7 separate regions of the Homo sapiens genome follow, and regions 1, 2, 3, 4, 5 and 7 are each linked to region 6. Evidence: promoter capture Hi-C in 16 types of primary human blood cells and fetal thymus (Javierre and others, 2016). All regions are on one chromosome and are shown on one strand. The core of a region is centred on a gene start or on the middle of the fragment in contact, and the rest is flanking DNA. Distances in the headings are between cores, read along the strand shown. Region 1 has its middle 340 kb from the start of LINC01370. Region 2 has its middle 310 kb from the start of MAFB. Region 3 has its middle 290 kb from the start of MAFB. Region 4 has its middle 260 kb from the start of MAFB. Region 5 has its middle 70 kb from the start of TOP1. Region 6 holds the start of MAFB (MAF bZIP transcription factor B). Region 7 has its middle 330 kb from the start of MAFB.

What was found. The method cuts DNA at HindIII sites, captures the fragments that hold promoters and counts their contacts. A CHiCAGO score of 5 or more calls a contact.
Region 1: a fragment that was not itself captured here is called in contact with the fragment with the promoter of MAFB in region 6 in 3 of 17 cell types (monocytes, M0 macrophages and M1 macrophages); the score reaches 10.6 in monocytes.
Region 2: a fragment that was not itself captured here is called in contact with the fragment with the promoter of MAFB in region 6 in 1 of 17 cell types (monocytes); the score reaches 6.3 in monocytes.
Region 3: a fragment that was not itself captured here is called in contact with the fragment with the promoter of MAFB in region 6 in 1 of 17 cell types (monocytes); the score reaches 5.3 in monocytes.
Region 4: a fragment that was not itself captured here is called in contact with the fragment with the promoter of MAFB in region 6 in 1 of 17 cell types (monocytes); the score reaches 5.9 in monocytes.
Region 5: a fragment that was not itself captured here is called in contact with the fragment with the promoter of MAFB in region 6 in 4 of 17 cell types (M1 macrophages, M2 macrophages, M0 macrophages and 1 more); the score reaches 7.3 in M1 macrophages.
Region 7: a fragment that was not itself captured here is called in contact with the fragment with the promoter of MAFB in region 6 in 1 of 17 cell types (monocytes); the score reaches 7.4 in monocytes.

The regions. Positions count from the first base shown.
Region 1 is chr20:40,340,116-40,342,815 of GRCh38, forward strand. No RefSeq gene overlaps it. Among named protein-coding and RNA genes, the nearest start is that of LINC01370, 340 kb to the left of the region's middle. The HindIII fragment of the contact is 3,607 bases long and covers 1-2,700 here.
Region 2 is chr20:40,377,617-40,380,316 of GRCh38, forward strand. No RefSeq gene overlaps it. Among named protein-coding and RNA genes, the nearest start is that of MAFB, 310 kb to the right of the region's middle. The HindIII fragment of the contact is 2,861 bases long and covers 1-2,700 here.
Region 3 is chr20:40,397,276-40,399,975 of GRCh38, forward strand. No RefSeq gene overlaps it. Among named protein-coding and RNA genes, the nearest start is that of MAFB, 290 kb to the right of the region's middle. The HindIII fragment of the contact is 2,531 bases long and covers 153-2,683 here.
Region 4 is chr20:40,427,082-40,429,781 of GRCh38, forward strand. No RefSeq gene overlaps it. Among named protein-coding and RNA genes, the nearest start is that of MAFB, 260 kb to the right of the region's middle. The HindIII fragment of the contact is 2,522 bases long and covers 110-2,631 here.
Region 5 is chr20:40,957,955-40,960,654 of GRCh38, forward strand. No RefSeq gene overlaps it. Among named protein-coding and RNA genes, the nearest start is that of TOP1, 70 kb to the right of the region's middle. The HindIII fragment of the contact is 7,671 bases long and covers 1-2,700 here.
Region 6 is chr20:40,687,845-40,690,544 of GRCh38, forward strand. It overlaps MAFB (MAF bZIP transcription factor B), which reads right to left and starts at 1,392. Exons shown (of 1, transcript NM_005461.5): 1 at 1-1,392. The coding sequence starts at 1,006. The coding sequence ends at 35. RefSeq lists silencers at 1,255-1,324, 1,345-1,654 and enhancers at 1,605-2,582, 2,583-2,700. The HindIII fragment of the contact is 7,144 bases long and covers 637-2,700 here.
Region 7 is chr20:40,356,147-40,358,846 of GRCh38, forward strand. No RefSeq gene overlaps it. Among named protein-coding and RNA genes, the nearest start is that of MAFB, 330 kb to the right of the region's middle. The HindIII fragment of the contact is 886 bases long and covers 930-1,815 here.

The DNA of each region.
Region 1 (2,700 bases), core at 125-2,624, 350 kb before region 6:
CCTGTTGTGAAATCCAAGCTACTGTCATAAAACATTTAGAAACAAAAAGGGAAGAGAGGAGTAAGATGGTCCAAAGAGGAAGCTCTTGCTATGTATTTGCATTTCTATGGAAACAGTCTTGGGCAGACATGGCTTTGGTCCTCTGTGGTCAGAGGAACATGAAGTCAGGTGCCTGGCAGCTGGTCAGAGGCTGCTGCAGCAGCAATTTGCAGGGGACAGAATGGCATAAGAGAACAGACACCCAGAGGCCTCCAAATCTCCTAATAACAGGGACCAGGAACTTGTGGGTTTATCTCTCTAAATGCCCAGCTAGTCCTGTGGCAATCTCCCTCCATGTGCACTTGCAAGTGGGCATCCTTGCCATTTTCTCCCTCCCCCTAAAAGCACTGTGCAAAAAAACATGAGATGTAGACAACAGAGAGAGAAGACAGATGGACTGCTATAAGACCAGTGACTAGACGATAAGGAGAATAACATTTTATGTTTATTATTAACAAATAGAACAGGTACAGTTGCCGCCAGTAATTAAAAGATGGTTATGCATTAGCAGTCTCAATTATTCAACTTAGTAGGGAAAAAAAAAGAAAAAGAAAAAGACCAAAAAAAAAAGACGACTATTTTGGAAACTGATGAAAAAAACAGATAACAAGAGTCAACATACATTCCTCATTAGGAAAACAAAAAGATAAACAACCCTTGTTAAAGTAAAAATAGGAAAAAATGTTGACTATGATAATGCTACCAGAGTTTGACAACAAAATTGTACCTTATTAAAATATAATAAAATCATTCCCAATGAGGCAAAACAGTAGAAAAAGTAGACTGACATCATTATAGTTTATTATTGTTCTACAAGTTCTAGTATCCACAATAAGATAAGGAAAAAAAAGATGTTTAACTTTTAATAAAGCAAAGCTAAAATTGTCCCTCCTTGCAGATGAATTTATCTGTATGGAGAAATCAAAAAGACTTAACTAAAAAAATTAATGGGATTTTAAGAAAAGTAGAAAGATATATGTTTAATATACACATATGTTGAATGCCTGCTGCATGCCTTTGAACCATGGCATATCATTTTAATTCTCATTCACACTGGCAAGATAGGTCTAACCTTCTGATCCTACAGATGACACAATTCAAATCTGGAGAAATTTAGTACCTTACTCAGAGACGGTTTCTAACTGCTAGAACATGAACCCAGTAATGACTTTCTTACAGCTCACATTCTTCATATACTAGCCCAGCGTGATTATTACTATTAATATGTTACTATATGAACAACATTAATAATAGCTTAAAAGGCACTCTTTAATAAGTACGTCTTATATGCATGCATTGCACTATGAATGAATGAATAACCTCTTTCCTCCCAAACAACAGCAAATGTTCCTCAAAGTTTCCACGGCCAAAATATACTTCTTCAATAAATAAAATTTTAAAACCATCAAATTAATTGCTTTCTCTAAATATTATTAATCATATGTAATCTATGAGCAGAGAGGCATATCATTTGGAACAAGAAGTGATACAAAAAATGAAGAAACTAAAATGTATAGGGAGAGTGACATCAGCAAGATGACAGAATAGGACTTTCCAGCACTCATCCCCTAGGAGGAACATCAATTTGGACAATTTATCCTTGCACAAAAATAATTTCATAAGAGCTAAGGAAACCCAGGTGAGAGATTACAGCAACTTGGAGTAGCAAAGAAATAAGAACTGACACATTGAAGAGGCTAGGAAGGACAGCTTCACATTATCTGAGTCACCCCTCCCTTAAGCCTGGGCAGCACAACATGGAGAGATAACCTCCACATGTGGGAGGGAAAGTGAAATAAGCACCTGGCTTTGCTACAAACCCCAGCACCAGGCCAGCTTCAATGAAATTCAGCACTAGGCCAGCCTCCACAGCCCCAGACTCTAGGTCAGCACCCATGGATCATGCCTCCAGGCCTACCCTACTGTCAGACCAGACCCATTGCTCCAGGCTCCAGGCCATTCTCTACAGCCCCATAATGACACCCAAGGACCCACCTTCTAGGACCTCCTCAGTGCCAGAACAACACCTGCAGATCTCAGTTCTAGGCTGGCCCATGAAGCCTCAGACGTCTGGCTGGTTCCAGCAGCCCCAGGCTCTAGGCCAGCTGCCATAACCCCAGGCTCCAGGTCAGCCCCTGTAGCCCCAGACTCCAGGCTGGCCCCAGTGGCCCCAGGCACTAGACCAGCAACTGTAGACCCAGAAACTAGGTTCACTCCTGCAGACTCACTTTCTAGGCCCACCCCAGTACCAAGCCAGCCCTGCAAAGACTCAAGTTCCAGGACTATCTCCACGAACCCAGGTGGCAAGTCTATTCCAACAAAAGGCCATCCCCTGATGACTCAGGCTCAAGGCCCATCTCAGCACCAGGCTGGCTCTTATGGACCCAGGATCCAGGCCCGATCCCCATACACTCAGCTTTAAGCAGGTCCCTGTGGACCCAGGTACCAGACCTGCACACATTCTGACCCAGACACCAGGCCAGCCTGCCCTAGGACTCTAGCAGCAAACCCACCACTGGGACTTACAAAATGGTCAACTCAGAATCTCAGAACTCAACCCAGACTGGAGAGTTTTCCCTGCCAAAGCCAATCTGTAAAAACTGGAATAGGTGCCTACTTCTTTGAACTTGCAATCATAAGACATGGCCAGAAGGGTAAAAA
Region 2 (2,700 bases), core at 88-2,587, 310 kb before region 6:
CTCTTTTCCCCTTCTTCCTACCTCCCACTGGGTTTTTTTCACCCCTTTCTCCATGTCTTCCTAGCCTCTGATTGTTTTGGAAAAGTAATGTTCTTTTATTAATTCTGAATGGATACTTCAAATATTTAATATGAACAAGTGGCTTAGGAAGGATAAAGTGATTAATATCTCAATGCTTGTTCAAAACAATTTAAGAACTTGGAATCCTCCAGCTCCAAATGTCCCATTCTATTTTACCTGCTATTTGTAGAACTCAATGCAGTCATTGTTATTTTTATTTCATACTATCAATGCTTCTATAGATCTAGTTATAAGTTAACTAACATAGGCTGGGCAAGGTGGCTCATGCCTGTAATCCCAGCACTTTAGGAGGGCGAGGCACGTGGATCACTTGAGCCCAGGAGTTCAAGACCAACTTGGGCAATACGGTGAAACCCTGTCTCTACAAAAAATACAAAACTTAGCTGGGCATGAATGCACACTCCTGTGGTCTTTAAAAATTTTACTTGGGAGGCTGAGGTGAGAGGATCACTTGAGCCCTGGAGGCAGAGGTTGCAGTGAGCCAAGATGGTGTCACTGCACTCCAGCCTGGGTGACAGAGTGAGACCCTGTCTCAATAAAAAATAAATTAACTAAAAATAAATAAAGAAAGAAGTTTCCTAATGTCAATGATTATCAGTGCTTCTTCTGCTCCTCTCTGTCCTTATGAATTCGATTCTTATTTTTCCTGAAATGTAATCTTTAGTATCTCTTCCAGGGAACATCTGTAAGTGGTAAGTTCACTTAGTCTTTGTTTCTATGACAATATCTATAGTTCACCATCATACTGAAATGATACTTCAGCTGGATATAAGATTCTGGGATAATGGCAAATTTTCTCTCATCCCATTGAGGGTATTATAAGACAGTATTTTGGAATTTCTGATTGCTGTTAAGAAGTTTGCTGTCAGTACAATTCTTTCCTTTATAAACAACCTGCTTATCCCAAGTTGTTTTAAATAGCTTTCTTTTATCTTTGAGGTACTCACATATATCTCCAAGTTACCTAATTTTCTTTTGTTTTTTTTTTTTCATATATGTTCTTCATTATGTCAATTGAGGGGATAATTTCAAACCATGTATTTTTATCTTTAAAAATTTTATTTGATTCTATTTCAGTTTAATCTATTCATTCACTCAGTGCCTTGATCTTAATAGTGTATTTATTCCTATACTACCTATGCTTTTAGTTATCTTATACATGCATATTTTGCATTTCTGTCACTCTATTATTTGATTATCTCAATTTGTGCCTCTCTAATATTATTTGTTATATATGCATTTTTATAATTTTTGATACTGTAGCTATCTTTAGATAGATTTTCATCACAGTAATCCTGCCATTTGATTTTAGGGAGGTACTTTCTATTATGCTTCTGTACTGTAGAATAGGGGTATATCATCATTTAAACCAATTTTTATAGATTTTTTTAACTTAGTGGATCTAGACACAAAACTCTGTGAAAAGCACATCTTTATAGACTTTATTTTTCATGAGAAACTTTTCATTTTATCTTTAATCCTTTTGTTTTAGTTTTCTTGTTATTTATTCAGTTTATTCAGTAATATGAGTGTATTCTTTTTATGCAGATACAACTTACAGAGTACGCAAATCTTAAGTGTATGATTCAATGAATTCTTACATATGTATGCACGTAACTACCACACAAATCAAGTCGAACTTTTCAGCACTCCAGAGGGTTCCCCTGTGCTTTCACCCGATTGGTCTATGATTTGGAGTATATCTTTCAGATTTCCAAAGATAGCCAATATGCTGACTTACAGCATCATTCAACGGTTTCATCTGTCTTTAAATTTTCTATAAATAAAATCACACTGTAAACACCTTTTTGGATTTTTTTTTTTTTTTTTTTTTGAGACTGTCTCACTCTGTTGCCCAGGCTCACTGCAACCTCCGCCTCCCAGATTCAAGCAATTCTCCCGCCTCAGCCTCCCGAGTAGCTGGGACTCTAGGCATGCGCCACCATACCCAGCTAATTTTTCTGTATTTTTAGTAGAGACAGGGTTTCACCATGTTGGCCAGGATGGTCTCGATCTCTTGACCTCGTGATCCACCCACCTCAGCCTCCCAAAGTGTTGGGATTACAGGCGTGAGCCACGGTGCCCTGCCTTGCATTTTCTTTTATTCAAAATTATGTCTGAGAGATTAATCCATGTTGTTGCGTTCATTACGGTCTTTGCTACCTGGTATTCCATTGTGTGTATATACCACAATGCATCCAACCCATTCTACTCTTAACTGGACATTTGAGTTATTTCTAGGCTTTGTCTCTTATGAACAAAGCTACTATGAGAATTTTTGTGTATCCTTTTGTGTGGTAGGATGTGAACTTATTCTAATTGTAAAAATTCCTAAAGAGCAAAAGTCCCATTTGACAGCTGTTTTCCCTCCTTCCTTTTCCTAGAGATAAGCACTGTTTCCAATTTAGTGTGTATCTTTCCAAATCACCATTTTTAAAAATTCTAGACATGTATAAGATTTTATTGTATTTTAACATAACAGCCATCATGTGAAATATATCATTGTAAACCTTATTGTCTTTGCCATTTAAAATATGTATTAAAGAACTTTCTATGTTTGTATACAGAGTGCTCATTCATTGTTTTTATTTGCTACATTGTATTCCATTCTATAATTGT
Region 3 (2,700 bases), core at 168-2,667, 290 kb before region 6:
TCAGTCTTCTTCTCACAAAACACATGAATTTGAATTGGGGAGATGTTGATCTAAATAATAACAAAGTAAGGTTTTTATAAAAGTGGATGCTGGAGAGACAGCCACAGTTTCCACTACAACAATGATAATGATGACAGCAAACATTTCCTGAAAGCTTCTATGCATGAGACCCAGCTCACAGCTTAAGATTCCTAGAATGGACATATCTATGCTCACAGCATGCCTCCAAGAAATCCAGCCAGAGAATCATGAGCCTAGCCCTTCTGCAAGCCCCAGCTGAAACAAAAACCCAACCCAGCTCAACTGAGTCTCCTCTCACCCCTTCCCTTATCTCTAAACACACTTATTTTACTGCTGTTTGCTTAAAGCATGGGGCAGACATAATTACTGAATTAGGCAAGATCTGGAAAGAACCCCAAAGCCATTTTTACTCAAACAGAAATCATTTGTTCTAAGGAGCCCACCCATCACCTCCTGACCTTGGAGCTTAATTAATTTTACACAAGAAAAGTGCTGGGTGCCCCTGACCCCTCCTGTTGGAGACATTCCCATTAAGAAGGTTACTGCCTCCCTCAGCAGGGACCCAGCTGAAATTGGCTATAAGGGCTCTGTAAATCTGGCACTTGTCCGGGCAAGAAAACTGAGTTTTCTGAAGCAACTGGAGAGGAAATAAAAAGTAAGTCTCACCTCAGCCAGAGTTGCCTCCTTGGTTCAGAATTGCCATTGTCACTAGAGTTTTCAAAGAAGCCACAGGAAAAGCGTCTGCCTGGGACTCCCTGATCTCCACCTCCTTTCACTGAGCTGACTCCTTGATCCTTCAGTACTCATCTTGGCTGCTCTTCCTTGAGGAAGTCTTCTTGACTCTTCCTTCAACCTTGCAGATTGTGTAGGCTACAACCCTCTGCGTTTGTCACACCCATGGCCCTTTTTCTCTCCACCATGCATCTAACCCAACTGAGCAAAATGGCTTACTTACTTACCTATGACCCCCTCTAGATCATGGGTGCCTTCAGAATAAGTACAGAGTGTATTTAGGGCCGGGCGCGGTAGCTCACGCCTGTAATCCTAGCACTTTGGGAGGCTGAGGCAGGCGGATCACGAGGTCAGGAGATCCAGACCATCCTGGCTAACACGGTGAAACCCCGTCTCTACTAAAAACACAAAAAATTAGCCAGGCGTGGTGGCGGGCGCCTGTAGTCCTAGCTACTCGCGAGGCTGAGGCAGGAGAATGGCGTGAACCCGGGAGGCGGAGCTTGCAATGAGCGGAGATCGCCCCACTGCACTCTAGCCTGGGCAACAGAGCCAGACTCCGTCTCAAAAAAAAAAAAAAAAAAAAAGAATAAGAACATAAGAACATAAGAACAGAGTGTATTCAACTTTCAACTACATCCTTAACCTCTTAGAGGCTCGATAATTACCATGGAAAGAAGGAATAGAAGGGGATAAGTAGGTAGACAGACACCCAGTAGATGAGTGTCTTGTTCATCCTGTTCTCATAGCTCCACAGGCCTCATCATAGAATCTTCATGACGTAAACTTGGAGCTGTCTGCTTTCCTACGCTGCAAACCTTGATGATGATGTGGTATTATTTCTGCCTTCCTTCTCCAGCACAGAATCTGAGGGCTCAAGGGAATGACTGGCAGACGAAGCCTGAAGGGGATGGTGCAATTTCAAAATTCAACTAGGAAAACCAGATGTCCTACTCTTGGAGTTACGGAGTGCAGGTGAGGAACTGCCTATCACCCTTCACTGCTAATGAGCTCTTCTTCCCACCTTTCCCACAAAGTGAGGCTGAAAAAAATCTTTTCAGCCAAATTCAACTGCAGAAACACTGGCTTAAACAAATGTAAAGTGGTTCCTTTAATGGAGAATTTCTTAGAATTTCAGATCATTGTGTGATATGAAACTGCAGGGTATGGACAGAAGGGTAGAAAATTCTTTTATATATATATATATATATATATATATATATATATATATATATATATATATAAAATTAGTAGCCAACTGGATATTTTGTTGTTTATTTAGGAGTCTAACATTGAATTACTGTCATATTGAATAGTGTTTCACAAATTTATTTGTGGCATAAAACAAGTTTCTTAAAGAGATTTGGAGGGGTTCTTTTTTAATTTTTTTTCTTAGAGACAGGATCTCACTCTGTCACCCAGGCTCAAGTATAGTAATGTGATCCTAATTCACTCTAACCTGGAACCAGGCTCAAGAAATCCTCCTGCCTCAGTCTCCTGAATAGTTAGGATCACAGGCATGTGCCACCACTCCTGGCTTTTCTTTTTTTTTTTTTTTTTTAAATAGAGATGGGGTCTCATTTTGTTGCCAAGACTGGTCACAAACTCTTGGCCTCAAGTGATCCTCCCACTTCAGCCTCCCAAAGTGCTGGAATTACAGGCGTGGGTCCCCATACCCGGCCCTGTTTGTTTTTTAATTTAGAATTTGCCGTGGACCAACAGGCAGTCGTATTCTCCACAACTAGTGCACAGCTCATGCTGCATGTCATCCACCTCTTTTTTCTCCCTCAACTCCCTCTCTCTTTCTCCCTGTCTCTCTCTCCCAGAGAAAGAGAACATAACTGGAAAGTGAGCTGGTGCACTAAAGCATCACCACCATCTGTCCATTTCCCACACTAGGAGATACCTCTGTATTACGCAGTCCCATGGCAGAAGCTTCTGGAGGAGGAA
Region 4 (2,700 bases), core at 121-2,620, 260 kb before region 6:
TGACTTAAAAATACGTATCTAATATCTTACAGTTCTGTAGGTTAGAAGTCTAACACAGATATCACTGGGCTGAAACTCAAGTGTCAGCAAGGCTGTGCTCTTTTCTAGAAGCTTTATGTGAGAATCCATTTCCTTCTCTTTTCCAGCTTCTAGAGGCCACCCACATGCCTTGACTCATTAACTCCTTCCGTCTTCAAAGCCAGCAACATCACATCTTTCTGAATCCTCTTCCCTCGACATATCTCTTTCTGATCACAGCCAGGAAAGTTTCTCCATTTTTAAGTGTTCATTTGATCATACTGGGCTCATGAAGACATTCTAGGGTAATCTCATTTTAAAGTCAACTGATTAGCAAGTTTAACTGCATCTGTAACTTTAATCTTATTTTGCCAAATAAGGTAACATTTTTACAAGTCCTAGGATTAGGATGTGGGGCCTCTCTACGGAGCATTACTCCAACTACCACAATCACTAACCATTTGCCTCTAAATTGTGGTCCCTGGGCTATTTTTCCTCTGAATTACCAGGGTAAGGTTGATGAGTGTGGAGATTCAAAGGCCACATCCAAGACCTTCCGAATCTAATTTTTTTTTTTTTTTGAGACGGAGTTTTGCTCTTGTCACCTAGGCTAGAGTGCAGTGGTGTGAGCTTGGCTCACCTCCACCTCCTGGGCTTAAGTGATTCTCCTGTCTCAGCCTCTCGAGTAGCTTGGATTACAGGTGACTGCCACCATGGCAGGCTAATATTTGTATTTTTAGTAGAGACGGGGGTGTCATCATGTTGGCCAGGCTGGTCTTTAACTCCTGACCTCAGGTGATCTGCCCATCTTGGCCTCCCAAAGTGCTGGGATTACAGGTGTGAGCCACCACACCTGGCTAAGAATCTGACTCTTTAGGGATGGGTCTGGGCATGGTAGAGGTCAACAAGTTCCCCAGGTATTTTCTATGAACACTCAAGTCTGAGAACCTCTTCAAAACAGTCCTCCAACAAGGCCATTATCTTCCATTGACAAATTAAGAAGTTGCTGCATTTGTGTTTGCTTTGTTTGAAGTTGTTTCTCTAATCAATTGATGAGGTTGCTTGTAATTAGAACAAAAGATTCCAATTTTAGATAGAGTGTCTAATAGTGTATCAAGTAACTAAAGTATGTACTCTGAAGAAGCGGGCACCAATTTTAGTTCAAAAAAATTCCATCTATAATCACTAAAGAATCTCTGTTATTTGTGCTTCTTTATACATCGATCATTTATCAAAACCTTTTTCTGGGGTAAATCCTGTGCTTGCTGTTAAGATACTTAGGTCAATTTGTAGCCTGTTAAGTAAAGGGCTCAAACTTTACTAAATGAACCCACATGGCATTGGTCTGAGTCTTTGAGACTCTAATCTAAAAAGAGTTCTGTTGGTTTCTTTCCTTGATCTAGTGTCAGTCCATTTAGAACATTAAGGGGTACTCCACTCCTAGAAATGAAGTGTCCTGTGTGCCCAGTCCCCCCTGACTGGTTTCCCTGACAGTAACTGAAATACTAGGACATTAGACTAAGGGCACAAGGTGGACACACAATACTGCATCTCCAGCCTGTGGCTCCCCCACACTCTCAAGGCTAAAGTTTACTTCTTGCCCATTCATGACTACTGTGTATGGAAGAGGGATACAAAAAAAAAAGGCACAAAAAATCTAACACATGGACATATGAGGGGGAACAACAGACACTGGGGCCTGTCAGGATGGGGTAGGTCGTGGGGGAAGGAAGAGCATCAGGAACAATAGCTAATGGATGTTGGGCTTAATACCTAGATGATGGGCTGATCTGTGCACCAAACCACCATGGCACCCATTTAGCTAGGTAACTAACCTGAACATCCCGGACATGTACCCCTGAACTTAAAATAAAAGTTGAAGAAAAAAAAACAATCTAACTGTTCTGGCTCTTTACATATATTACTTCATTTAGTCTTCACAATTCTGGAAAGTGAACTTGACTATGTAAATTTACCCATGGAAAAACAGGGGATCAGAGAAGCAATCCCTTGCCCATCAATGGCGCTTAAAAGTGGCCCATCTGGGATTCAGTTAAAAATGTCTCTCCTTCTCTTGGTGGTGGGATGTGCTCTGGAAAGTGCCTGAAGTCTGTCAGTCATTCAAGCTCTACTCTAACTAGGTTTGTGAAAAACAGAAGTAGAGCTTACACCCATTGACCAGAGTATTGGGAAGGGTAAGATGCTTTATTGGGATATCTCTATTGAGGGGATATAATTCTTTACTTCCCTTTTATAACAAAGAACTGGCTTAATCAGAAAACAGTGTGAAATTCTGCATGCTTATGCAACTCTCAGCACTTCGGGATATGCACAGTCAAGGAATTCAATGGTAAAAATATAGGTGGGTGACAGACCATCAATTAATTAATCAATTGAAATAATTTTCAAAATAAAATATGGAGTATCTACCATTTGCCAAGCACTGAGCTCAGAGTCTAGGGTTGAGTGGTTGCCTCAGTCTGATTTGCAATGCTATAAAAGAATACCCAAAAGTAGGTAATTTATAAAGAAAAGAGGTATATTTGGCTCACAATTCTACAGGCTGTACAAAAAGCATGGCACCAGCATCTGCTTCTGGTAGGGGACTCAAGAAGCTTCCAATCATGGTGAAAGGGCAAGGGAGCCAGTTTGTCATAAGGAAAGACAGGAAGGAAGAAGACA
Region 5 (2,700 bases), core at 80-2,579, 270 kb after region 6:
AAATAAGTGGATGTTGTGGCCTGTAATCCCAGCACTTTGGGAGGCTGAGGCGGGCGGACCACCTGAGGTCAGGAGTTTGAGACCAGCCTGACCAACATGGCGAAAACCCGTCTCTACCAAAAATACAAAAAAATTAGCCAGGCGTCTTGGCGCGCGCCTATAATCCCAGCTACTCGGGAGGCTGAGGCAGGATAATCGCTTGAACCTGGGAGGCAGAGGTTACAGTGAGCCAAGATTGTGCCACTGCGCTCCAGCCTGGGCAACAGAACAGGACTCCATCTCAAAATAATAACAATAATAAATAAGTGCCTGTTGTATTTAAAATAGAAGCACTATATGAGGACTTAGTAAATCAATCAACCAATAACTACCCCTTTGACATAGCAATCCCACTCCCAAGCATCCAAACCAGGGAATAACAAGGATGTTTCTATTAATACCGCCAAGTCACAAACAACCTGAAATCAATCTAAAGGGGATGAGATGGATGGACTGTGATGTAGTCAAAAGAAGACACAGAAGTCATCAGAATGAGAGAAAGATATTGCCTAACCTGCAAAGATTTCCAAGATATATTATTATTATTAATCATTATTATTATTAGAAAAAAGCAAGTTGAGAACGTTCCAGACCAGGATTCCTCAACCTTGGCACTACTGACATTTTGGGCCGGATCATTCTTCGTGTTGGGGGCTGTCCGGGGCAAGGCAGGCTGTTTAGCAACACTCCTTTAGCACTCTACACACCAGATGCCAGGAGCACCTCCCTCCCCAGCCATGATGATCAAAAATGTCTTCAGATGGTGTCAAATGTCTCCTGGGGAGTAAAATTCCCTCCCCATCCCGCTTTCCCACCCCCCACAGTGAGAACTGGTCTAGACAGCATTGTCAGGAATGTTTACATGAACCAAAGTAAACACCTAACTAGAACTTCTATAGGAACTTAGGTAAATGTATGAATGCATAGCAGAAAGTCTGAAGGGAGTCTCCAAACTGGGAGCTGGGGTTGTCTCTGAGGAGGGAATTGGGAATTTGGGTGGGGGGGAAGAGAGGGATCTGGGGAGACCTTTGCTTTTGTTGTATGATCTGCATGTTTGACCATGAGAATGCATGCATCTGTTCAGTACTTTTTTGTTCTTTGTTTGTTTTCTTTGAGAAGGAGTCTCACTCTGTCGCTCAGGCTGGAGTGCAGTGGCGCCATCTCGGTTCACTACAACCTCCACCTCCCGGGTTCAAGGAATTCTCCTGCCTCAGCCTCCCAAGTAGCTGAGACTACAGGTGCCCACCACCACGCCCAGCTAATTTTTGTATTTCTAGTAGAGATGAGGTTTCGCCATGTTGGCCAGGCTGGTCTCAAACTCCCGATCTCAGGTGACCCACCAGCCTCAGCCTCCCAAAGTGCTGGGATTACAGGCCTGTGCCACTGCACCCAGCCATCTGTTCAGTACTTTCATTATAAGAGAGAAAGGAGGAGAGGGAAGGGAAAGGGAGGGAAGGGGAGGGGAAGGGAATCAATGGGAAAGGAGGGTCAAGAAGGAGAAGGAGAGAAGGAAGGAAGGGAGGGAGGAAGAGAGGAAGGAAGGAAGGAAAGAAGGAGGGAAGGAAGGAAGGAAAGAAGGAGGGAAGGAAGGAAGGAGGAGGGAAGGAAGGAAGGAAGGAAAGAAGGAAGGAAGGAAGGAAAGAGGGAAGAAAGGAAGGAAGGAAAGAAAGAAGGGAGGAAGGGAGGGAGGGAGGGAGGGAATGAGTGGCAGAAGCCAAGTCTGCAGTTGGGAAATCATGGGACGTGCTGGCTTTTCCTCTCTGATCCTCAGTGTCCTCAAAGAGAAAGGCACAGCATAAACAGGTCTCTAAAGACCCCTCCTGCCCCGTCCACTGTTGAAGAGAGCCCCAAGGTGACCTGGCCCCCTCCCTCCCGGCTGTCCCTCCCACACAACCCAGTTGTTGCACAAAGAAAAGAAGTGCTTGGGGCTTCTCCTCCCTCTCAGCATCTCTGATTATGCCTCCCTGCAGGAGGAGGGGAGGTTGGGGCCTGGTCAGCAGCCCAGCTCCACACCGAGGACTTGAGGACTCGCTGGAGCTTGATTAAATAATTACACAGAATCTACTGAGTAATCATGCCCGTCTCAAGAAGCAAGGAGCACCTTCAGAGGGAGGTCCCATTAGTGATTTGGGGGCGTGTGAGTGTATTTGTCTACTGCCTATGATAAAATTATCATCAGAAGGCCTCATTTACAAAATGCATCCCTTTCCCCCATCTCCTTCCATCACCTCCCAAACCCAGAGATGTGTATAATGTAATCCCCATTCCACGGCAGAGGACAGGGACTCACGAGCTTTGGGGCTGGCTCAAGGTCCCAGCAGCAGGGGCTGGTGGCAAAGGTGGTCAAATACCAGAAAGTGCACACAGAGTGGGGACAAGGCTCAGGACTGAAACATTTTAGAAGAGGTTTTGTTTGTTTTTTATTGTTTTGTTTTGTTTTCTCGCTAGGATTATTTCTCTCCTTTCAGTTTTTGAAAACAAATCTAAAATCAGCCATGGGAGCCTCCCTAGGTCTTGCTGCCAAGAAAACAGCCGAGCATGGAGGGTGAGGGCTGGGACTCACTGCGGCCGCCCTCATTTCCGATTTACCCAGGCCAAAGGGGACTGCCAGGTGGAGAGGGGGAGCCCAGGCCATCCTGGGGCTCTGTTCTCAGGCCTAGG
Region 6 (2,700 bases), core at 142-2,641:
CGGGGCAAGGGCGGGGGCCAGGACCGGCCACGACTCACAGAAAGAACTCGGGAGAGGAGGGGCTGTCGCTGGTGGAGCCCGCCTCCCTGAAGCCGGAGTTGGCGAGTTTCTCGCACTTGACCTTGTAGGCGTCTCTCTCGCGGGCCAGCCGGGACACCTCCTGCTTAAGCTGCTCCACCTGCTGAATGAGCTGCGTCTTCTCATTCTCCAGGTGGTGCTTCTGCTGGACGCGTTTATACCTGCAAGACTGGGCGTAGCCCCGGTTCTTCAGGGTCCGCCGCTTCTGCTTCAGGCGGATCACCTCGTCCTTGGTGAAGCCCCGCAGGTGGCGGTTCAGCTCGCGCACGGACATGGACACGAGCTGGTCGTCGGAGAAGCGGTCCTCCACGCTGCCGTTGCCGCCCGCCGCCGTCGCCGAGGCCGTCGCGTGCGGCCCGGGCCCGGGGTGGCTAGTGGGCAGCTGTTGCGCCGGGCTAGCGGCGCTGGACGGCGGCGGCGACGCTTGGTGATGATGGTGATGGTGCGGGTGAGCGTGCGGGCCCAGCTCGTCGTGGGCCACGCCGGCGCCCGGGTACGCGTGGTGCGGGTGAGGGTGGTGGTGATGGTGGTGGTGGTGAGCGCCGCGAAAGCTGTCGAAGCTTTGCAGCGGCTGTGGCACTGGGTGCGAGCCGATGAGCGCTTCCACCGCGTCCTCGGGCGTCAGGTTGAGCGCCTCGGGGTTCATCTGCTGGTAGTTGCTCGCCATCCAGTACAGATCCTCGAGGTGTGTCTTCTGTTCGGTCGGGCTGAAGCTGGGCGACGAGGGCACGGAGCTACACGGAGTGCTGAGCGGTGTGGAGGACACCGAGCCGGCTGGCTGCAGGCGTGTGCAGGGCCTGCCCGGACGCTCCGCGCGCCCCAGTGGCTCCTTCTTCACGTCGAACTTGAGCAGGTCGAAGTCGTTGACATACTCCATGGCCAGCGGGCTGGTGGGCAGCTCTGGCCCCATGCTCAGCTCCGCGGCCATCGCTGAAGCGAGGCGCAGCCGCCGCTGCCGCCCGGGAAACTTTGCGGCCGGCCGGAGCGCGCCGAGCCAAGCGCGGGGGGGAAGAGCGGAGAAGAGCTGGGGAGGCGGGGAGCGAGGGCGCAGCGGGCCGGGGCCGCCGGCCAAGCCTTTGTCTGGGGACGCGGCGGCGCGCCGGAGAGTCCCGAGGCTGCCTGCACCGCCCCAGAGCTCTGGGCTGTGCCCGCGCAGGGACCGGGCCGGGTAGAGTCGGGCGGGGTGGAGAGGCAAGCGGAGCGCGCGGTGGGGCTGAGGGGAGGCGTGGGGCGAGTGCCCGTTGCTCGCTCTCTAGCTCTCTTGCTCTTACGCTCTCTCGCTCGCAGCCGCTCGCAGCTCGGCGGTGCAGCTGTGCTGGATCCGGCGGCGCCGCAGCCTTTTATCGCCTCCTGATGTCACTGGGGTGCGGGGGCCCGGGCGGCCCGGTGCGCGGGCCAATAGCTGCACGGCCTCCGCGGCCCAGCGGCGCAGGGCGGGGCGCGCCTGACAGCTCCCCCGCCCCCCGCGTCAGCTGACTGGCGGCCCGAGCGGCCCCGGAGCGGCGGAGGCCTGGCGGAGCGCTGGAGCGGAGTGGGACGGCCAGCCTGGGCCCACCCCCGTACCCTGCAGGTCCCGGCCCACGCACGCTCGCCTGGAGTGCGCGCCCCACCTCTAGGCCAAATCACCGCTTTCCCCTCCTCGCGCACTCTCCTCCCTCAGTTCCCTTTGCACCCCACCCCCATCCCGTGTCACCCCCAAGGAGGCTCAGAATGAGCGCCGGGACAACGCCTCCTGGGCCCTTTGTTCCCAAGCGGCCCCCGCCCAGTGGGCGACGCTCTGTGTGTCCTCGCGGCTTCTGGCCGTGTGTGTCGTGCGTTCCTGTTTCTGGAGATCTGCGCGTATTTGTATGTTGGGGAGGGCGGGCTCGAGGCTCCGAGAGTTGTGTTCAGACCCAACTCTTAACCTCAGGGGACCTTTCTCAGGCCAAGCGAGGGCCCCTCCTGGCGGGTGCAGTCGCAGAGCCCTGAGGTTCGACTCCACTGGCCCCGCCGCTCCCCGCGTTCACCCCACCGCACAATGTTCACAGTGAAGGCGACGGGAAAAGCAGCAGCCCAAAGGCTCTGAATTCCTCTTCCCCGCCACACGCACGGAATCCTGAGCCCCCGGAGCCTCGGGGCCGAGGCCGGCCCGGGACGGTGCTCCGAGTAGCTCTCCACTGCTGGGGAGCCGGCCCTGTTTTTGTTTGAACGTTTTGTAACGATTAAGCAGATCCCGGCGTCAGCCCGCCGCGGAGAGGCTCAAACAGGCATAAAGTGCGACCCCAAGTGGCCACTGTGCGCAAAGGCGCCGCGACCGCCCGGCCCACGGCCGGAAGGCTTGGACGGCGCCTCGTACCCAGCCAGGTCTCCCCTACCTGGCCCAACCCAAGCCAGCCCAGAACGCATACTATGTGTGCACCAGAGCCCAGGACAGGTTCCCCTCGAGCGATGTACAGGTCCTCGGGTCCCGTCTTCGTACTCAGCCGCGAGCCTCGAGCCGCGAGCTCCGCTCTGGTCGCCCCGTTGAAATTCCGTGCCCCAGCGTTCGGGGGTGCCCGTCGGCTGCTCCCTGGGCCGGAAGGTCCTGGGCGGAGGAAGGCCGGTAGCCAAAAGTGGAAGCGCCACAGTGAAGCGGCCCAGGGC
Region 7 (2,700 bases), core at 123-2,622, 330 kb before region 6:
TGTTATGTTAACAGGAAACCAATACAGATAGGAAAACTAAGTCCTGGCCCCTGATAGACATGTAATAAGTATGTGTTTAGTTAATGCACGAATGAGGCTTAGAGAGGTACAGTGGACGTTCTAAAGTAACAAGGCTTCCAAGTTCTCAAACTTACATGGAAAGTTGAAAAATCCCCCTTACCTGATAATAGTGGTTAACTCAAGATGTGGGACTTGGGGACAGGAGGAGAAGGGAGACTTACTTTTCACTACAGCTTATTATACTACCTGAATTTGTCACCCTGTGCACATATTGCCTATTTAAGAAAAGTTAATGACCCTTGTCTTCAAGTCTGAGGGATAAGACAGGTGTATAGATCAAAATAGAAAAGAAAGTAATCAGTAACCCAATGCCACATCTGAAGGTAGGTACTGTGACAATTCAATATTTTTGGATATGCTCAGTTAATTAAATCTGAATTCCAGTGCCTATCTGCTCAAGCTACCATCCACCCACTCTCTTTCTTTTCCTCTTCAAAGGTTTCAACTCTAAAAATAGTGTACATCTATACTGCCCTGTCCCTTCTTAGCCCCATGAAATTTTGCATGTACTCTGCCCCCAGTAAAATGCTAAGCTGCTCATCCTCATAGGGAAATGATATCAACTCATGGGCAGGGCATGACTTTTGTAGACAAGAGCTAGATTTGAAACCTAGTATCCACATCAGAGTAACCAAGAAAAATTTATTTAAACCTTCTGAGCCTCAGTTTTTCTATCTGTGAAATGGCATCATGATGTGTTATAAGGATTTGTTGGTTTATTTATTTGTTTTTGAACAGAATTCAGTCAAGCAATGTATGTAAAGCATTTGGCATGGTATGTGGCACCCAATACATATTAGTTCAATTTCCCTCTTTATGTATTTTCTTCCCTTTTCCGCAGTAGCCAAAGCTTTTATCTTAGCCCTTAGCTTCTCCAAACTTTCTGCAGTATAGGACAAAATTGATCTCTCTTTCACCCCTCTCACTTTCCTCTCCCACTTTGTTTTTTTCATCCTGTAATTTGTGCAATAGAAATTTTACAAGGAATACAAAAAGTGCAGACATCATTCCAGCATTGTGAAATGAAGATGGCTTAATCAGACAGTTGTGCTCATGTGGGATCCCCTGGGCCATTTATAGGCACCATTTAAGTTCAGAACTCCACACACGCTCAGTATGTTTCAGGTGATATATATGGTTGTTACATGTAAACCTATGTTAGGCAGTTCCTGCCACAAAGATGCTATGTAACACACCAGCCCCAAACTCACTGCCTTCCAACTCCACTTTCATTCTCATGTACACAAATTTATAGGCTGACTGTGTTCATCTGATCTAGAATTGGTTCCCTGGGGTGGCTCTGCTTGAAGCTGCAGGACAAAGGGGTGTGGATCCAGCCTCATCCTGAGACCAGGCTGAAAGGGCAGCAGCCACTGAGGGTATGTTCTTTTCAGGTGATGGCAGAAATGCAGAGGGAAAGCCCAACCACACAAACACAGTGCCCAGTAATGGCCCAATAAAGTCACAAGGCCAATGTCAAGAGGTGAGACGGTACATTCTGCCCACTGTAAGGCCGTAGCAAGGGAGTGGCTAGACACTAATACTAGGGAGAGTGAAGCATTGGGAACAATTATCTAACCTACTACACTATCAATCCACCTGAAGTGATTAGCAAGTAATCCCCCATTCTTCCCCAGCTCCCCTTCCACAAATCCTCACCAGGAATTCACATAAGCCATGAAGACTATGACTAATGTTGGTAGTTGGGTTTCTAAATCAATAGTCAAGAAAAAAAGCTTCATTAAACGTGTCATTAACCCCCTGAAATTGTAAGTATTCATAAGCACGTGGGTACATACCTTTTCTATTGAGAGAGTACAAAACTTTAGATTCTCAATAAGAATTTCAGAACTACTTCTCTCACTAGCCTCATATTCACAGCCAGGAGCGGTTCTTTAGCACAGCAGCAAGACACAGCTATAGTATTAAGTTCTGAACCTGGGATAGTCAATGGCCTGATCCAGTTTGTGCCACAATCATCCTCCCCAAGAACTTCACTCAGAGCATCTCAGCCTAAACATCACCTCGCCACACCAGCCTCCCCTGATCACTTGAGTTGATACAGCTCTTCTCATCCCCAGTTACTTCCCTATCCCATCGCCCATGTTATTTCCTAGGTCTTATTGAATTTATGTGTTAGTTATTATTTTCTGTCCCCTCCCACTAGAATGCAAGCTCCATGTCCTTATCCGTCTTGTCCCCAATCTTAACATAGCGTCTAACACATAGTGGAAGCCCCATACGTATGTTAAATTTATGAAATGAATGAATGGATGAATGAATATGAGCATCATTGGGAGATGCTAGATAAAGCTAACAACCTAGCATGGAATTCATGGGTCTCTAGAGAATACGCTCCCCAAGGTGTTTGTGGGAAGTTTTGTAAAAGAGTGTGTTAAAATGTACACACATGGTGGATGGGCTGGGAGAGAACTATGGGAGAAAATTAACAATCTGTGCTTTGTTCTTCACTTGAGTTATGCGTGATTAGCTTCCAATGAAAAAGACATTTCTTCACACACACACACGAATTCATGTGTACACACACACACACACACACACACACACAGACACACCCCCCAGAGTCTCTTATATGTGAGTCTATCTCCTAGACTTGTG